Regions from separate parts of the Homo sapiens genome. Here region 1 is linked to region 2. The links are contacts of gene promoters, found by promoter capture Hi-C in human tissues and cell types (Jung and others, 2019). All regions are on one chromosome and are shown on one strand. The core of a region is centred on a gene start or on the middle of the fragment in contact, and the rest is flanking DNA. Distances in the headings are between cores, read along the strand shown. Region 1 overlaps DNAH5 (dynein axonemal heavy chain 5). Region 2 holds the start of DNAH5 (dynein axonemal heavy chain 5).

Region 1 (2,933 bases), core at 350-2,849, 59 kb after region 2:
GCAGTGGAAGGTTGAGAGAGTGATGGAGTAAAGGATATTAGCAAAACAATGGTTGAAGTGTGAAATCGTGTTAGGAGAGGGCATGAACCAGGGAGTAAGGGTGAAGAGACCTTGAGAAGACATGGCGTCTAGTAGGTTCCTGGTTTGCCAAAGCTAAAGCATCATGGGAATGAGGAAATGGTGGAGCCCCATGCTGATTATTCAAGGAGGACACCACTCAGGATTGAAAGAAAGGCCCTTTTGGTGGGTTTCAGCTTTTGGGTGTCATCATGGAGGTTAGTTGTTGAAATGAAGCAGGATAAGTGGAGGCAGCATCTTTCATTTATTTTATTTGTCCTGGGGGATATTTTAATGAGTCTATTTATTACTTCTTTTTCCTCATTGCGTTTATATTCTGCTTTGTTAATTTCTATGCTATTTACATTTTTATGGTTATGCCTTCTCACAGAGAGAAAGAGTTAAGAGATGTAAACAACGTTGTTGGAACTATATTAGTCTTTGAGAGGTTATCAATCTCATCTTCTAGAACCCTCAATACAAAGGAATTTTATGATCTCAAACATGTGCTTGTGTTACTGAGAGGACTGAAAGAGCTGCAAGTTAATTGAGGATTCCCTGTGAGAGCTGGCCCTGAAAATGGAGACCACATGTGTGTTTCTCTCCAAGGTAGAGTCAGAGGACTTAAGATTCAGACTTTAAAAAATATTAGTGTTCTCTCAGAGAATTGAGGAGTTAGTTTACATGGAATGAGTTGACTAACCTTTGCAAATATTTAGGTCCTGTGGATGTTTGTGATTTTCCAACCAATAATAATAACAAGCACTTCTTGTGTGCTTACTTTATGCCAGGCACTGCTCTTAGTATTTTACTTGCATTTATTTTATGGAATACTTGCAAAAACTACAGTGAGTTCTACTATATCACCATTATACATATGAGGGAATTGAGACTGAAAAGAATTTTCAGGATCATGCAGAGCAAGGATTTGAATCCTAGTTTTCAAGCCGTATAAGTTTAAAGATGTATAATGCTGGAACTTGGAATGGAGCTGGACACTGTGCCTAACTGACAGTCTGTTGTTTCATGGGCTTACTTTCCAACCAGGTGGTAAATCACTGATTCTGTCTATATCATCCATCTATAACTATCTGTCTACCTAATCTCCTCCAGAATTGATCACCATGCCTCAAATCATGTTAGTTTATATTTATTAAATCCATTCTTGAGAAATGCACAATATAGTTAGAAGGGTGGGTAGTGTCTTTGAAATTAATGAGGGGATGACTATGGTTTGTTGGCAAAAACAAGGAGAGAAAGAAGGGTGGCTGGATCCGATTTATGTGATATGAAGGAAATGTGACGAGTAGAGAGGCTGCTGATGGCTTTTGAAGATATTTTCTCTACTGGTGGAGAAGTGCCTGTAATTTTGGTCCATCTACACTGATCCAGTGGGTTCTCTTGTCCTAAACACATTCCTTTAGAGGACACCTGGCCTGTGCTATTGTGAAGGATGTGGCCAAGCATCACTGGGGCTGAAATCTCACCTGGAGGCTGAGCCACAGCATTGCTACCACTGTTTCTGTGCTCTCAAAAGCTAGATAAACCATATACCACTGTGCTATCTTTTTTTTTTTTTTTTTTTGGTTAGGATCTTTGTGTAAATGGTGCACAAATACTACATTTTAAAAGCTCATTAGTGGAGGAGGCAGTCAATGAGCTTGTAAATATGTTGCTGGATGTGGAAGTTTTATCTGAAGAAGAAAGTGAAAAAATATCCAATGAGAATAGTGTTAATTACAAAAATGAAAGTTCAGGTAAGAGATGGGGTAATGAAAGGGTCTTGTTTTTCTATGACATTTACTAAAAACTAAAACTGCATTTTCTACATACCAATTAATTTCATACTTCTATAAACATCCTCTCGATTTTCTAATGATATGTATAAATCTGAAATTATGGCCCTGAGCATATTTTAGTGACTCTATGTTGTTAATTCCTACTATTTTTGGTTAAACTTTGCAAACATGCACTTTGCATTGGCCCTGGTTAGCTTTCTTTGCATTTATGTGTGGGTGGGTGTTTTATTTTACCTTATCAATAGAGTTGGATGGATTATTGACTGGAATTCCCCTTGGAGAGCCTCTAGACTGAGCGCACCTTTTGCAGGACAGAGGAGAACAGAGAGATGTGGATGTGAAGAAGGGAAATTATCCCCCCAAAGTTTTAGGGTTATTGGTGGGAGGTAGCACCAGAACCCAGGTCCTTGGGGGCCACTGTAGCTTTTCCAGCCATAGCTCCTGCCTCTCTTGTTGGCTGTTTTCTTGTATTGAGAAGGAGATGCTTCCATCAGTCCCTCTGGTTCCTGATTTCCTCCTACTTTTTGATGTCCTCACTTCCTAAGAAGTGTGATGTTTAAGTGATACTAAACTTGCATGTAATTTATCCTTTAATTGCAACAGATGATTCTATCTATCTGTCTATCTATCTGTCTATCTATCCATCCATCCATCTAACTTATCTCTATCTCTATCTCTTTCATCTTGTAACAGCAAAAAGAGAAGAAGGAAATTTTGACACCTTGACATCATCTATTAATGCCAGGGCCAATGCCCTGCTTTTGACGACAGTCACGAGGAAAAAGAAAGAAACTGAGATGTTAGGGGAAGAAGCCCGCGAGTTACTCTCTCATTTCAACCATCAGAACATGGATGCTCTTCTGAAAGTTACAAGGAATACACTAGAGGCCATTCGCAAACGTATTCATTCCTCTCACACAATTAACTTCCGGGGTAATAATCTTGTGTGGTTTGCTTAGTGGATGATCAGGCATAGTTGCTGGGGTATGTGTGTGTGTGTGTGTGTGCACGTGTGCACGTGCATGTACATTCCTGTTAAATTTAAATAATTAAAAATATTCATCTTTTTTTAAATTT
Region 2 (3,202 bases), core at 252-2,751:
ATACCATTAGGGAAGCACCGATTCAAATGTAACTAATGAAAGATAATCGGCGATGTAATGAATTGTAACATGTTTGTCCTGAGGTCATGTGTTGACAGAGGATTCTTGGGATGGATAGGAGATGCCATGTGAGGAGGATCCGATCCTACTGCTATTTTCTGGTGTCTTCAGCACCACACAGAGAAGGGACTCAGAGTCTAGATACTGTCTTCAACACTTTTTATTAGAAACGGACAACAGCCGCTTACCAACAACCAGAGGTTGACTTCAACAAATATCCTGCAGGGCCTGGCCTGGTGGCTCATGCGTATAATCCCAGCACTTTGGGAGGCCGAGGTGGGCAATTGCTTGAGGCCAGGAGTTTGAGACCAGCCTGGGCAATGTGGCCAAACCTGTTTCTACAAAAAATACAAAAATTAGCCGCGTGTTGTGACACTTGCCTGTAGTCCCAGTTACTAGGAAGGCTGAGGTGGGAGGATCACCTGAGCCTGGGAGGTTGAGGCTGTGGTGAGTGGTGGTCACGCAACTGCACTCCAGCCTGTGTGACAGAGTGAGACCTGCAGGTCTCAAAAAAGAAAAAAAAAATCCTGCAAACAAACTTAAACTTCCTGTGTTCTAGTTATTTACTTACCAAATAATATTGAGGTCTAAATGTTGTCTGTTAACCTGACATATGGAGGCCGTCCGTGCCCTAGCATTGGATATGGACCAAGTGAATCTCCATGTTCTGAAACCATGTCAGCACCCTGCCTTCCAAGTCAGGCTCCACAGAGGTTGACTAGCAGGATGTTACCAGGATGAGTTCCCAATTTCCTGATTATCCTTGGATGACCTTTTAGGATTTGAGTTGCTGGACTGTGAATTCCAAGGACTAAATTCTAGATTCAACAAGACCAACCTTAAGTGTCCTGCCTTTTATTCAACTCGATGGGAGAAACCATACATGAGAGATCTCTCAAAGCATTTGGCAGTGTTTTCCCATTACATCTTCACAGTTAAGATGATCAAGATGTTTAGCCACATAGGATAAATTACCTTGGCTGAAGTGTATGTGCAACTGTGTGAGCACAAGTAATTTATGGACATGGTTTGCTATTTGCATATGAAACAGACTTCTTGTTCTTTGTGGTGGAGAAAATGGCTCCTATGGGTCACAATTAGCCTATCTGGCAATTAGTCACAATTAGTCACAATGCTGGCAGTGCATCGTGCTTGCAAAGTTGTTTACACAAAGTAAGACTGAGTTTCTCGACATGGACAATATATTCAGAGCTGTGGCTTCTTGGATTTCTAATCTGATATGGTTTAAAGTTTCTCATTGTTCAAAGAAACTATTTAGATATCACTGTTGACTCAATGCTTATTATTGGGCAGTGAATAGAATTAATTGAACAACAGAAGGAGTTGTGTTGCTACCGAGCAGTTAAAATGCTTTGATTGCTTGATAAACATGATTAAGAGGCATGGTTCAACTGTATAGTGTATAAACAATATTACCCTAACAACACCAGGCTTCGAGAGAGAGGAGAGGCCCAGGGCAGACACTCTAGGAGAAAAACTTGAGTGGTATAAGTGGAGTTTTAATTTTTATTCTGTGAATGTAGTGAATAATACATGCAAATTAGAAACGTGAAAGTAAAATGGAAGTAAAACTTTCCATTTGGAAGCCTGTTGGATGTTGAGCAGGTCTGCCAGGAGTTAGAAGACCATTCCGGAAGAGCTGACTCCAGCCTGTCCATGCACGGCTACAATGTTTAGGATTGGGAGGAGACAGCTCTGGAAGCATAGCGTCACTCGAGTTTTAACGGTAAGGTGCTGTTGTCTGTACCTTTGCATGTGTGTTTTGGATTATCATCTGTCACACCTGGGTGGAAAAAACAAACTTGAAAAAGGTTCAAAGTCACACACTGATGAATTTGCGAGAAACACATTTTTTAACTAATGTTCACCTGGTGCATAGGCTACATATTCATTTTTTAAATAAAAAAAATTTTGCATCTGTAGGCTTTTCTGCACGTTGCCGCTTAAACTACGCACCTAGAAATTCATGCTGCATCTTTTGGGAAGATGCTTTCCTGGGGTCAAAAACACATTCATAGTGGTTTGGGCACTTTGTATTCTTTCAAACCTGTAAACTTTAGTTGGTGATTAGAAATAGTTAAGGCAGATTCTAGGCTGCAAGGTTTAGGCTTTGAAATCACTCCCCTGTTCTATATGCCTGCAAATGAGGTCACAGACAGTGAGATGCAAGGCTGTGCCTTTGGAAATCACATTGAAGAATGAACTTCCCTAGCACAGGGCTCAGCTCAGCAGCTTTTTATTATGCAAATGCATAGAGAGGGATTTGGAAACCTCTTCCACTGCCAATTAACGTCAGAAGAAATTGGAGGTTTCTCTAGGACTCAGTTCTCAACCATTAACCCATGCTTCCTACTGGGCTTGATCACTGTGTCTTTTTGTGTATCCCCAGAAGCTCACATGATCCCCCCTAGCCTGTTGTTTTTACCACAAAAGAGCAGGCATCTACCTCTGAATTTTTTAAGTATGCCACCATCTGCCACCCCTCACTTGCCCAAGCCACAAGATTCTGATGCATCCTTCCCAAGGTGAACGTCTTGCAGCCAAGCCCCTGAACTTGCTTGCTAGAGTTAGAAGACCATTCTGGAAGAGCTGACTCCAGCCAGTCCATGCACTGCTTATTCTTCAAGACCAAGTGCTAGTGTTACCTCCTCTGAGAAGCGTCCCCTGACACTTTGAGGAGGAGGTGTGAGTTTCCTTCCTGTACCCTGTCAGCACTTTCCTTCGATGTCTTATAGAGTCCTTGTCACATCACTGTAGTGAAATGACATTTACCCACATGTCTCTTTCTCTTGCTAGATTGCGAGTTCTCTCCATTTTAAAATAATCTTCCTTTAACACAGAGCTTGGTCCATAGTATATGCTTGGTCCTTAATATATGCTTGTGGAATAAGTTGAATGAATTAAACATTTCACATGTCTGAACATTTTTCCTGTGCTTCAGTACCAAGTCTGAAACACCACAATTGATGATAAAATCTCAGGTATAATTAATGAATTATTCTTCCTTGACATGAACTATGTTTTGAGAGTAAGTCAAGTCTTTTGGAGGTTTCAATTATATATTTAGGATGCTGGTTTGGTTCACTCCACTGAAGTATAATATTAACAGAATTACCTTAAT

What was found. Contacts are between HindIII fragments. The study calls those that stand out against the background at their distance.
Region 1: a contact is called between a fragment that was not itself captured here and the fragment with the promoter of DNAH5 in region 2, in 1 of the 25 tissues and cell types used here (hippocampus).

Annotation. Positions count from the first base shown.
Region 1 is chr5:13,884,845-13,887,777 of GRCh38, reverse strand. It overlaps DNAH5 (dynein axonemal heavy chain 5), which reads left to right. Exons shown (of 79, transcript NM_001369.3): 18 at 1,649-1,814; 19 at 2,550-2,789. All of the region lies in intron 1 of DNAH5-AS1 (DNAH5 antisense RNA 1), which reads right to left. Among named protein-coding and RNA genes, the nearest start is that of DNAH5-AS1, 26 kb to the right of the region's middle. The HindIII fragment of the contact is 6,258 bases long and covers 1-2,933 here.
Region 2 is chr5:13,942,987-13,946,188 of GRCh38, reverse strand. DNAH5 (dynein axonemal heavy chain 5) reads left to right here and starts at 1,501. Exons shown (of 79, transcript NM_001369.3): 1 at 1,501-1,807. The coding sequence starts at 1,751. The HindIII fragment of the contact is 17,200 bases long and covers 1-3,202 here.